Linked DNA regions of Homo sapiens: all the other regions are linked to region 4. Evidence: promoter capture Hi-C in 16 types of primary human blood cells and fetal thymus (Javierre and others, 2016). All regions are on one chromosome and are shown on one strand. Each heading gives the region's core, a stretch centred on a gene start or on the middle of the fragment in contact. The rest is flanking DNA. Distances are from core to core; before and after follow the strand shown.

The links. The method cuts DNA at HindIII sites, captures the fragments that hold promoters and counts their contacts. A CHiCAGO score of 5 or more calls a contact.
Region 1: a fragment that was not itself captured here is called in contact with the fragment with the promoter of SLC68A1 in region 4 in 1 of 17 cell types (erythroblasts); the score reaches 6.7 in erythroblasts.
Region 2: a fragment that was not itself captured here is called in contact with the fragment with the promoter of SLC68A1 in region 4 in 1 of 17 cell types (activated CD4 T cells); the score reaches 5.1 in activated CD4 T cells.
Region 3: a contact is called between a fragment that was not itself captured here and the fragment with the promoter of SLC68A1 in region 4, in 1 of 17 cell types (activated CD4 T cells). The highest score is 5.3, in activated CD4 T cells.

The regions. Positions count from the first base shown.
Region 1 is chr10:102,599,383-102,602,610 of GRCh38, reverse strand. SUFU (SUFU negative regulator of hedgehog signaling) reads right to left here. Exons shown (of 12, transcript NM_016169.4): 8 at 3,067-3,178. Among named protein-coding and RNA genes, the nearest start is that of TRIM8-DT, 42 kb to the left of the region's middle. RefSeq lists an enhancer at 2,109-2,859. The HindIII fragment of the contact is 3,650 bases long and covers 154-3,228 here.
Region 2 is chr10:102,281,076-102,284,419 of GRCh38, reverse strand. The region is part of intron 3 of GBF1 (golgi brefeldin A resistant guanine nucleotide exchange factor 1); the gene reads right to left. Among named protein-coding and RNA genes, the nearest start is that of GBF1, 37 kb to the right of the region's middle. The HindIII fragment of the contact is 1,587 bases long and covers 472-2,058 here.
Region 3 is chr10:102,261,351-102,264,679 of GRCh38, reverse strand. All of the region lies in intron 3 of GBF1 (golgi brefeldin A resistant guanine nucleotide exchange factor 1), which reads right to left. Among named protein-coding and RNA genes, the nearest start is that of GBF1, 17 kb to the right of the region's middle. The HindIII fragment of the contact is 561 bases long and covers 1,753-2,313 here.
Region 4 is chr10:102,459,840-102,463,067 of GRCh38, reverse strand. It overlaps SLC68A1 (solute carrier family 68 member 1), which reads right to left and starts at 1,673. Exons shown (of 10, transcript NM_024789.4): 1 at 1,618-1,673. LOC124902493 (a long non-coding RNA gene) reads left to right here. Exons shown (of 3, transcript XR_007062270.1): 3 at 1,008-2,275. RefSeq lists enhancers at 591-1,273, 1,274-1,957, 2,085-2,154 and a silencer at 1,595-1,814. The HindIII fragment of the contact is 5,189 bases long and covers 232-3,228 here.

The sequences.
Region 1 (3,228 bases), core at 729-3,228, 140 kb before region 4:
AAGTAAGGCCTTGTGTCACAAAATAATTTTGGTATAAATGAGCCAATTATGACATAGCTTGTTATTTCTGGGATTTGGAATCATCAAGGCTCATGGCATCTCATAGGAGTTATTTAACTCCCCTAGAGTTTAGTTAAATAAGCCCAATAAGCTTCTAATATGAGGCTTTGGCCTTGTCCTTGGTGCCATGTGAGAGGTCCTGATTCATGCTGCAACTAGTTAGATGAATTCTACCAGTAAAGGTCATTATTTTCTCAGAGACACAGTCTGATGTGTCCCCCATGGGGTCCCTGAGAATGGGGTAAGGAAGATTACATCCATTTTAATGGCTGATAGATGGCTGTAACTAAGCTCTACCCCTTTCCAACCTTGGAAAAGATACTTATTAGCCTCTCTGTACCTCATCCATTAAAGGGGAATATGTAAGATTATCGACCACAGGATGGCTATGAGGATAAGATAAATGAATGGCAGCACATAGTAGCTGGCACATTACCTAGCACAGAATGAGCACTAATAAGGTTTTAGCTGCTGCTGAAGTGTGAAAAGAGCAAGTGCTTGACACCCCCAAGTAGGCCGGCACCCGGCTGCTATTGCCCAGGCTTGATCAGCTGCTCTGAGCCTCTGATTTAGCTCTGTATCTTCCTTAGACCACAGACAAACCCGCGAAGACCCATGCATAAGAGCTCCCTGGCCCAGAAGTCCTGACTAAGGGGAAATCAGACCCGCAGACAAAATATGGCCCACGCTGGCTGCCCCCCAACAGGGAGAGGAGCAAACACTGGTGCCAGCACATTTTGGGTCAGCTTTCTCAGTTGCAATCCATGTGGTGTATGTGAAATGGGGTCAGGTCCCAGAGTGGGCAGCACAGATATTACCGTCACGCTCACTGATCTGAACTGAGTCCATCATCATCGATCCTGAGATAACAGGAAACTTGAGTCTGACAGGCTTGAGGGGTGTGTTGGAGAATGTTCTTGGCAAAGGAGGAGGAGAAACCATTTCTCAACCAATTGCTAACAAATTGGTAACCAATACTGACAGCCTCAGAGGAAACATTCTATTCCCCTCAGACTACAGGTCCTGGTGCTTTAGAGACCTTACTGGGCACTAAACCTTCAGGAAGGGGAGACAACCCCGGCACCTCGAATCTATTCTCACCCATCTCTCTGTATCTCAGCCAACTCAAGCCAAAGGGTAGAAGCTGCAGCCTCTCTGCCTTATGTTTACAGAGAACCCTTGGGCCAGAACCAATACCCGACTGCCCAGTTAGGGTGTAGGCTGAGAGTCTCGGCTTATGTGTATATCTAGGAGCACAGAGCCTTGTGCCCCATTGCAATGTCCAGGGGTGCAGTAGCTGGAAGTGCCCCCAAGCCAGGGAGTGAGATCTCAGGCCTGTTCCAGATACACAAGCGGGGCAAGAAGGTTGTATCTCTGCAGGAGCTTGTGCCCTTCTGCCTAGAAACCCCAGGCTTCCAGAGGCAGAGAGCCATCTGGACTGAGACTGTGTCCATGTTATAGGCCTTCCAGTACCTCTGGCCTGCCAACAGTGCCAAGGAGGCCCAAAGCGAGAAGCCAAGCTCAGGGAATGGGAAGGAGTGTAGACCCGGGACAGGGTCCAGACTCACAGGTAGAGAGCTTCCATATGTCGTATGACCTGGTGTGGCCATCTGCTGCTGCCAGGGGATGATCAGGATGCCTCCAGCCAGCTACTTCAGGGCAGCTGGCTGGAGAAACCTACAGGCCGGAGTTAAAAGCTGCTCTGAGGTGGCGGTGGAGGCTTCTCCAGGCTTTTGCCAAAGAGCTCAACTCTCAGTACAGCCCTGTTCCCAGAGTAACTCTAGTTCCAGTCAGGTCCCAGCAGGCAGCCTCAACTTTAACCAGCCAGGCCTCCCCTGTGCTATCCTCTTGAGTTCCTTCCCCTGCTTATTAAAATTCTAAGGTGCCCTCAAGGTCGATGCTATGTTCTTCCTCCTCCAAGATGCCCTCCCTAACTACCCCAGATCCTGTGGACCTGTCTTTTCTGTAGTGCACTGAAGCATTACTACTTCTGGGAAACACGATCAGCAACTAGAGCTAGAATCCAGAGAAGCAGCCATTTCCAACAAATCACATCGACAGCCAGATGCACACCATTAAAAGGTAACTGTTTCACTCATGTTCTCCCAAAGGAAGAGCCTGTGCACCCCAGATGGCCCCCTAGGTCCGAGCTTGTCAGACAGCAAATGTGTAATAAAGACTTCATAGAAGAAGGCTAGATCACCCTGGTCTTGCAGGATGATCAACCTCCCTTTCAGCCCAAGGCACAGCAATTTCCTCCCTGGCAGGCAAGGTTCCTGCTTTGGGCTGCCAGCCCCCAGGTATCTCCTGCCAGCAGCTATTCCCTAGAGCTGCCCTGGGACTAAGGGCAGAGGGGGGTGCCCAGCTTCAGCCCTGCCTATCACTCATCCCCTCTATCAGAGGAAGAGAGGTTGGCAGGAAGCGGATCTGACCTCTAGGGTGGCCACAGTCTCTCCGGAGGGCTACAGGGGCCCCTGGACAGGCAGCAGAGGCCTGCAAAAGACTTCCTTTCCCTTCCCTGGGCCCCAGGGAAGAGAGGCAGGAAGAAGGGCCTCAGCCACAGGCATCCAGTATGGGGCTGGCCAGAGAGGGAGGCCCCCAGGGTTGCAGCTATCAGCCGGAGACCAGGCTCCAGGAAGGAAGGAAGGGCAACTCTGGCCAAGACTGAGATAAGGAGGGAACCGTGCTCAGCACAATGGGCTCCCACAAGGCTGGGAGGCCCCAAGTCAGATTTCTCCCCAACCTGGCCTCCTGTCTGTTCACACGGCTCATGTAAATATTTACTGATGTTAATATTCACGGTCTGCTGGGTCCCCTCTGAGGCCCTCTCCTATGACCCACAGATAGATCTGTGTGCCCCAGACCATGCCTGCCCTTAAGCCTAGAGATCCTGGGCCCATCCAGCAAGGGCTATGTGCATTGTTCTCTCTCATGCAATCCACAGGGACAGGCCCTTCAGAAAAAAGTCGTCCTCTTGTTCCAGCCCAGGGACACTGGGGAACTTACGGGGCCCGGTCGTGGGCGAGGCCATTCTGCCGCTGAGGGTTGATTGGTGGAAGGACAGGTTTGCTGTTGATCTCGAGTCCTCTCCTCAGGGTCTCCCGGATCTGCTCTGTGTCTGCAACGACACCACTAAGTTGCCCAGTGGCCCAGTGGGCTCCCAGCAAT
Region 2 (3,344 bases), core at 16-2,515, 180 kb after region 4:
AGTGTGGAGCAACTGCTTAATGGGTACAGGATTTCCTTTTGGGGCGATGAAAATGTTTTGGAATTAGATAGGGTACATTGTGAATGTACTAAATGCCACTATATTGTTTCACTTTAAAATGGTTAATTTTATGTTATATGCATTTCACTTCAGTTTTTTAAAAAAGCTCTTGAAAATACAAGTAAAGATCCTCTTATCTCTAATTTGACTTTATTTTTCTAAAGTGCTTTAACAGGATATGAGCTTCCCTTCTAAGAAACCATGAACAATTTCCAGTTAAAGCCTGTCGTGTCTCCTCTATAGTTTTTGTAGAGACAAGCAGGTACCTCAGTCCATAGTGCAAAGGGTCACTTGGGATTCTTGCAAAAAGTGAAACTTACCTAGTTGCTTTCCACTCACCAAAACTGGTTGCAGAAATGTCAGTGGACGTCTATGTCTGTATTCCCACTGGAGGCTCACTGAACCTAAGCTTCTTTAGCAGCTAAAAAGTCTCCCCTCCTTGGAGACTTAACATCTATTGAGACTTCACAAAGATTTCACATTATACAAGACCACAGTAAGAAATTTCCTCCTCTTCCACCACAGCTCAATTCGGAGTTCTTTGGAAACACAGGTACTTCACTGTCTCCTGTTTTGCATTCTGAATAAGAGATCCTCCCACGTTTTTCCCCTACCTACAGGTTAAAACTTGCCAACAGACAAGACTTACTGGTAGAAGCACTTTGAATAGTCATTCTTCATATTGTCACTTTGTCTTTCATATTTCTCTTTCAAATTGTTGAGGCAAAAGCATTTTCAGAGTATGAGGTCTATCCTCTAGTATTCAATACCTGTTACATCTTTGCTGTCATCAACAACCTCCCAGCCTCCTAGCAGAAGGCCTCAGTCACCCAAGCCCTTAAAGACTCCTATAATTGGTGGTTTATACTTTCTCCCCTGTCCTAATCCCACTTCATCATGCCATGAAGATACACAATATTTGCAAATTTTCTAAAGCTCTTTCTCATTGTTTTGCTCATTGCTATTTCCACAGCTTCCTTTTGGAGATAAAGCCAGGCCCTTCCTGGCCTCAAGAATTTACCTGTGCCTGGACACAACTAGAAGAGGGCAATAGTCACCAGAGGGTCCAAACACAGCTTCTATGCTCATAGCTACATATAATAAAAGCATAAACGGAGAATGATCCCCTTTCCCATTAATTAAAATGGCTCTACTAACAAGTGGTTGTTAAGGGTATCAATAAACTGCCTACCCTCTGTCATCTTAGGTTGAAGTACTTTAAAAGTTACCTTTTAGGATCCAGGTACTATCTTCACTACTACTTCTCTGGGCAAGATGAGTGACTCCTTACCTTAAGATCTGATGGTTTGTACCTCAATAGTTTCCACCTCCTTGTGATAATCTTTTAATAGTATCTAGGATCATTAGTAACCCGCTACTTTACCTCCTCTCACCTCTCCCCTTTACTCATCCCTCCGGACAGAGCATTCAGAGTCAGTTAAGTGCCATGTCTTATTGAATTTTTAAATTTTTCTACTATCTCTTAGCACTGCAGTTCTGTGAATCTCCTTACTCCAAGCCAGAACTTCAGCCTACCCAATTAGAGACTGGAATTTAAAAACTCATGTTCCTATTCCCAGATAGTTAACACCACACGTGCTGGAAATAGGCTAGTTGGGTTAGTGTTCATGCTATACTCTCAGCAGACTTTCCTACTGAACCTGGTATCCAACAACAGGGACCAGTAAGCAGCCTGAAGTCTGTTGCCAGGGAACAAGGCTAACTCAGGATTTTCTGCCATCAGTTCCTTTGGTAGACATAGCAGAATCAAAGAGAAAGGGGTTTTCCCAAAATAATTGTGATTAAAATAATAATGTTAATTTGTCTCCAGCAAGACAGAAGAGTCCAGGAACAAGCTAGACTCACCTCTGTCTCTTGTTCCTCTTCAGTAAATGGCCCACCTGAAGGTTAGCTGTAAGTCTGCCCTTATTCACGTGAAAAGCAAATAAATAACCTCATCGCCTTTTTCCAAATCATAATCACACTTTAAAAGAAGCTTTTACTGTATAACCTTGAAAATGTTACTTAATTTTTCTGGAACCTGAGTTTTATCTGTAAAAGGGGAATATTAATAAAGGCACAGTCTATCTTGTGAGTTTTTGTGAAACTTGAAAAGAATACAGGCGGCCGGGCGCGGTGGCTCACACCTGTAATCCCAGCACTTTGAGAGGCCGAGGCGGGTGGATCACAAGATCAGGAGATTGAGACCATCCTGGCTAACACGGTGAAACCCCATCTCTACTAAAAAATACAAAAAAAAAAAAAATTAGCCGGGTGTGGTGGTGGGCGCCTGTAGTCCCAGCTACTCAGGAGGCTGAGGCAGGAGAATGGCAGGAACCTGGGAGGCGGAGCTTGCAGTGAGCCAAGATCGCGCCACTGCACTCCAGCCTGGGCGACAGAGCGAGACTCTGTCTCAAAAAAAAAAAAAAGAAAAGAAAGAAAAAAGAAAAGAAAAAGAATACAGGCAAACTGTTACAGCCAAGTGGAACCTAACAAGATGTGATGACTAAATGTAATGTGGTATCCTAGATGGAATCCTTGAACAGAAAAAGGCCATTAAGTAAAAACCTAATGAAATCTGAATAAAGTATGGACTTTAATTAATGATGAATCAATATTTGTTCATTAATTGTGACAAATGTGTCATATTAATGTAAGATGTTAATAACAGGGGAAACTGGGCATTGGATAGATGAGAACTTCTTTACAACTCTTCTATAAATATGTTTATAGAAATAATCTATTATAGATTATGTATGAGTCTAAGTTATAATATAACAATTTATATAAATATAATTTATAGATAATTTATAAAAATATAATTTATAGATTATAATTTATGTGCTTTATAGATTCTAAAATTGAAAGGCTATAATGAAAAACCACTTTATAAATTATAAAGTTCTAGTCAATTGTAAAATATCACATAATTTAGTAGATTTAGTATTTTATGCAGATTGTTGGTAAGGTAGGTAGCTATCTTAAGTAGCTCAGATAACAGAGATCACTTGAAGAGTTAAGTGCTGGTGTGGAAGAGTCTAGCCCCCAGAAATATCCCAGCTGTTTCCTGCCAGCTGGTGCCTCATGTCTGACTTGCAATAGAGTTGATTTTCTTTACGTAATTATTTTTGCCTCTCAACCCGTCTATTTCACTAAAAGAACAGTAACTTTTTAAAAAGAGGCTTTAAGCAGATAGGTGCTTTAATTTAAAACTTCAAAAAGTGAAACTTAAGGCATGGGTACGATAATTTATTAGGTCCATTTCCTAACTGGCTGAAACAGAT
Region 3 (3,329 bases), core at 784-3,283, 200 kb after region 4:
CTGGGAAAGCCCAAAGGGGCAGACAGACAGGGAGGGGGGAGAAGGATAATATTGACTAATATAAAGGGCGCAGCTTGACAGTGGATATTCCTGCCACACCTGATCAAACACACTCCGTGGGGGGAGGGGAAAGAGAGCAAGAGAGGGAAGATGGGACAAGACAGCCTGAAATTTGCATCCGGAAAAGATTAAAACGGATTCTTTGGGGATAGAGAAAATACATAATATATATTACTATAAATGCAAAACTGTACTAAAAGCTAACTCAAATGTCAAAGATTACAGTTTGAATAAATTTAAATATAAAAGCCATGTGCTTCCTTGAGTTAATGAGAGAGACATAAAAGGACAAACTGGGCCAGAAGCTGAACAGAGCCTTATGCTGCCTTTGCTGGGTAATGGGTCCAAAGCACAGCAGTGACTACAGAGACTTCCCTCCACAGTTCTGAGACCTGAGAAAAAACTGGCAAATCCATCACTTCTGCAGCCTACATTTGCCTCCTTTATAAACTGAGATATGATTCACATACTATAAAATTATCCTTTTCAAGTATACAATTCAGTGGTTTCTTGTATACTCACAAAGTTGTGCAACCATCGCTACTATCTAATTCTAGAACATTTTCATTACCCCAAAAAGGAACCCTGTAGCCATTAGCAGTCACTCTCCATACCCCCTCCCAGCCCCTGGTAACCACACATCTGTTTTAACTCCTTCAGAATAATCTAAAAGGAGTCCTGAGAGGACTTCAAGACCAAATGAGGGACAGCAGTCAAGTCTCTCTCACTGGTGGTAAGCTAAAGCTTTATCCAAAGTAACAGTATGCAAACTTTGCTCTTGGACACCCTTTTTCTTCCAAGAGCAACCCTCTTTTCAAATTTGGTATTATTAGAATATCTTATTACTCTAAATGCTATAGACCTTGTAGTCATCATACAGTTTAGGCAAATACTGACTGTAAATGTGGTCCAATGACATACATCTGTGAGAAAAACTAGTATGGACTTAGCCAACCTTACTGGAGAAAAGGACTTATTTCCTTCACAATAATGAGATAATATTCCTGGAGGAGTAGTGTAGGTAGTACTTATACATTTTAAAGATTCTTTCTACAAAAAGAGAAAAAAAAATCATTTTGGTTTACTGACAATGTCCAATGAACCACCCATTTCCAACAGTGATAGTCTTACCAATCAAGCCAGCAGAAAGCCTAGAAAAATGCAAACAGAAACCCTTTGCAAAAAAGGACCATGTCCAAGTCAGTTTCATGAGAAACTGGGTAGAAGTCCTAGAATTCCTGCTATCCCTCCTCCAATCTAAGTGGTACACCTTAACTGGTCATCTAACACAAGCACATTCCCTTCAGTTTTCTCTCCAAGTTAAAAACCCTTTCCCAGCCTCCTACCATTAATAAGCTTCCAGGAAAGCAGTCCTCCTGACACTGCCAATCAGAAAAATCTGTTTGTTTCCGTAAAAGAAACAAGAAATTAGTCATGGGTTGCAGAGTCCAGGACCACAGGGACAGCTGACCCATAAACCTGCTCCTGGGAGCCGGCACTGTGTGTGGGGTCAGAAGCAATATGAAGACCATAAATGCTCTATTTTAGGTCTATTCTGTCATTTTCTCAGGCAGGTAATATGCTAAAAACCAAGAACAATGTAGCAACCTTGGCAGGCACCATTTCAAGACATGCCACAGCTGTTGGCCTTGGAAAACACTACTCCCTTCCCTCTCACTCCAGGGGAAAGCTTAGCAACACCCAGAGATGTTCCTACCACCAATGAGAGAAATGGCTCCTGAACACACTCTGGTTTTACTAGTTCCAAGAGCAGATAATCTGGCTGGATTTCTGACCCAAGGACGTAAGGAAATCAGGCGTCAGACTCAACTTTGATAGCTCTTAAATAGTCTACAATTCCTAGACTGCATCATTCACCACAGGTATGGTCTCTGAGGTAAAATCTTGGGACATGTTAGCATGAAGAAAATAAGCATGGGATCTGGATTCAGTAGCAGGCAGGAAATGTGGCTCTGTCAGGATAGCAGCACCACCTCAGCTCCTCAAGGTTTGCAGAATGACCAAAAGGCCTACAAGGCCAGGGTGATCTCAGTCATTTTAGGGTATTCCCAGTCACTTATAACAACAATCCTTCACTGTGTATAAGATGTTTACCAAGTGTTTCCAATTATATTAACTTGTTTGATCCTCTTAATATCTCTTAAGAAGACAGTACTCTGAATTCAAAACCAAACAAAAAGAACTGTAAATCTCCATTCATTATATTTCCTTTCTAATTGGGATATGTAAGCTTTATCTGTAAAATTAAAAAAAAAAATCTGTGCAAGTAGCCAACATTCTAAAGCACTCAAGTACCAGTCGGTACAGGCCATAAAATAAGAACATGCCACCTAGTAGCAGCATTTGCCCTGCTAACTAGTCAACAATTGCCTCCTCTATACTTGATCCTTCTTAGCTAACATTTCCAAGCTGTTTCAATTGAGTGAAATTTGCTCCTTTAAAGAAAATATGGTTGGGAGGCCAAGGTGGGCGGATCACTTGAGGTCAGAAGTTCAACACCAGCCTGGCCAAAACGGTGAAACATCATCTCTACTAAAAATACAAAAATTAGCCAGGCATAGTGGCACACGCCTATAATCCCAGTTACTCAGGAGGCTGAGGCAGAAGACTTGCTTGAACCCAAGAAGCAGAAGTTACAGTGAGCTGAGATCACGCCACTGCACAAAAAGAAAATATGGGCTGAGCACGGTGGCTCACGTCTGTAATCCTAGCACTTTAGGAGGCCAAGGCAAGTGGATCATCTGAGGTCAGGAGTCTGAGACTAGCCTGGCCAACATGGTGAAACTCCGTCTCTAGTAAAAATACAAAAATTAGTCGGGTGTGGTGGTGCACGTCTGTAATCCCAGCTACTTGGGAGGCTGAGGCACGAAAATCGCTTGAATCTGGGAGACGGAAGTTGCAGTTGCAGTGAGCCGAGATCACACCACTGCACTCCAGCCTAGGCAACAGAGAGACACACTGTTTCAAAAAAAAAAAAAAAAAAGAAAGAAAGAAAGAAAATATGTAGGGAACTCTTAGATAACTTTAGCCCATGTTTAGGAAAGTAAAATAGATTTTTTCTCCAGATCTTCTCCCATATTTCTAATGAAAAGAAGAAATTTTCTTATTGTTTGTTTAATTTGCAGAAGCCTAAACACTATCCAATTACAGTCTGACATATGTCACTAGCCAAAAGCATTCCAGGGTTATACACTGCAGGAGCCCTTTGTGGTCAACAAAGGAACATAGCTCTGAGGCTGTCCCTTTCA
Region 4 (3,228 bases), core at 424-2,923:
GTCAATATCAACAACATCCTCAGCCCTAGGGAACAGCAGCAGCAGTCATAGGAAAACTGTCATCTTCAGACCCCACTGTGCCCCTCCTAGCTCTGTGTTCTGCTTAACTGTGGGAGTCAGAGAGAAGGGGCAGCCTGGGAGGCTTGATGTGCCTCTCTGAGTAAGACACTAAAGCAAGGCAGCAGGTACAAAGAAGAATAGTGATCATAACAGAGGAACATTTATTAAGCTTTCGCCGGGTGCACAGCACTGTGCTAAGAGACACAGAAACAATCTGGGAAGAGAGCTCAGAGCAGCGCGGGAGAAAGGGGCCACATCAGGAAGGGTTTTGTAAACCTTGTGCAAGATTCTATGCTGAGGACAACAGGTGGGGCGCTGGGGGTGGGGAAGTGACAGATCTGTTTGGAAGAAGCCCTCTAGCAGGTGTCAAAACTCTTCCCCTTCACCCTACCAGGCCCCTGGTAGGTAAAGACTAGAAAGGGATGGAAGCAGCAACATCTCCCTGATTTCTGAACCAACCTATGGTGGGTGGGGGAGGTTGATGAATTTAGTGGCGGAAACCAAGAATGCCGAACTGGGCCCCTGGAGTGAGAGGTATCAGACTGTACAAGAGACATTAGTGCAGAGGTAAAAGCTAAGAAGAGGCATAATTTGGAGTCAGGAGCCCTGGGTCAGGTGTGAACATTATCTTTAACTTACTATCTGAGTCTATTCCTACATCTGTGAAGCAGAGAAAACAATTCCATTCTCTGCCTATCCTCAGGAATACCAAATGAACAAATGAACATGAAAGGTATAATATGTGCCCTTTTCTCAACAGGCAGCTGACCCCTGAATTGTCTGCTGTGTTTCCTGTTTCACTCTCGGGGTCTTGTCTTCCTGCCCAGTCTCCCCACAGCAGGGTCTAGCACCAGGGTTGGGGGGTGGGGGCCCATCCTCCTCCTCCGGCTGGAAATGAGCTTTCAACTTGTTGAGATGGGGACCTTCTCCCTCTCCCTCCCCCACAGGTCCCAGAAGAGGCGACAGCTTCACCTCAGGACCACCCACCCCTCCCAAGCCACTGAGGAGTTTGGGATCAGCCCAGGAGCTCTTCACTCAATAGCTGGTGCTGAAACACGTGTAGGGCTGCTCCCCACCGCCTGCACGTTAAAATCACCTGAGGAGCTGTGCAATAATACCGAGGCCCAGGCCTCACCCAGAACAGTTAAATCGGAATCTCTTCGGGCGGGCCCAGCATCGGTGTTTTTCAAAGCTCCCCAAGTGCCACCAGGGTTAAATGCCTTTATGCTAATGGCACGGATCCCGACCTGACCAGTGCATCCCTCGATCCCAGACCACCAGGGAGCTATTTGACCCACTGCATCCCTTTCCTCCAGACCCCCGGAGAGCCTTTCTGCGAGGATTCCACCCTTGCCCCCTTGAACCCCGCTTCTTCCGCCCGGACCACACAACTCTCCCAATCCACAATATGATCACCCCAAAGACCCCCGCAGATAGCCCCCATGACTCCCAGAGCGCAAAGCATTCCCCTCCCCCTCGGGTCTGTCGTTTGTGCCAGATCGGCCCCAGCCCAGCCCGCTCCTGCCCGCGAGCCCCGGCCGCTGGCCAGCGTCTCACCGCAATCGTAGCCGGCGAAGCCTAATCCCACGGCTGGCGGGAGCCAGGTGCGAGCCAATGCGCCTGCGCGCACTTCTAGGGCTTCCCCAGCCTCTCCCTCCGCCCCCGCCCAGCGATTGGCTCCGCGCGGCCCCCGGGCGCAGCTCCGGCAGGTGACTGCGCCTGAGGCTGCCGCCGCCATGTTTGTCACGGGCGCTTGCCCTTAGCGACCAAAATTAAAAGCGGACACTGGCAAATAGGGTCAGGTTGCCTGGATTCCTGACCGGCTCAACCCCTCTCCTTTACCTCCACGATAGCTTAATGTCATTTCAGTTGAAACCAACACGTTTTTTCTAAGCGCTCACCTTCCTTCCCTCCTTGCCTAGTACTCGTTGGGAGAACAAAGAGAGGTCAGCATCCTCCATTGAGTCTTGTGGTCTGAGCGGATGCACAGCTGCAGCCGACTTGGAGGTGTCAGCGGCTCGATCTGGGACTCCCTGATGCTGCATCATGAGCCCTTCAAGGGTGGACAGGTCCAGGTTGAGCTGTGGGCACCAGGGCTCTAGCCACAGGAGCCAGGGCTGAAGGTGGGAAACAGCCACCAGGGCCTGAATGAGCAACCATGCAGCACAACCTCTTTGTATTAATAACGGCAATAATAAAACCTAAGGAGTACTGAGTGCTTGCTATGTGCACCGTACTACATTCAGAACAACACGTGCATTCTCTTGTTGAGTCCTCACATCATTCCTAGGAGGTAGGCGCTTTTATCCACATTTTATATGTGAAGAAACTGCATTTCAGAGAGATTCAATGACACGCAAACAGCAAGGGCCCAGTCGAGGTGGAACCCGCTATCCTGACTCCCATAACAAGAGTCTTTCCTCTTCCCACACCTGCACAATCCCTCAAAATCAAGTTTTGTTTGGCTCAATGTAGGCTGTGGAGGATGTTTTATGTTTTCTCCCAATTGGCCTGTAAGCCTGGATAGGTTTTTGGGCAAGCAAACAGCACACATTCCAGCTCTGCCTGGTTCCCCTACCTTGGGACACAGGGCAAAAAGCCTGTGGCCTTTGCCTTATGGGGGACTTGGAACTCAACCCCTAGCTCCAACACTTCTTTGCTAAGGGACTTCTTTATTATTATTTTTTGAAACAGGGTCTTGCTCTGTTGCTCAGGCTAGAGTGCAGTGGTGGCATGATCTCAGCTCACTGTAACCTCCACCTCCCTGGCTCAGATGATCCTCTCACCTTAGCCTCCCAAGTTGCTGGGACCACCACCTCACTCCACCATGCCTGGCTAATTTCTAGAATTATTTGTAGAGATGGAGTCTCACTATGTTACCCAGGCTGGTCTTGAACTCCTGGGCTCAAGGGACCCTCCCGCTTCAGCCTCCCAAAGTGCTGGAATGATAAGCGTGAGTCACTGCACCTGGCTGGGACCCTCCTTTTGTGAGTCTGTTTTATGCTTTACAGGGATTTTTCAGACATTAAATGAGAAACAAGGGTGTAGGAGCTTTGTGAACTGCTCATCCTTATGACCTTCATTGATGGTTGTCGGCTAACTTCCTGCAACAGGAATGTTGTCCTCCTCCTAACAACCACAGCAAATGGTCCAATGTAGACGCCTAGT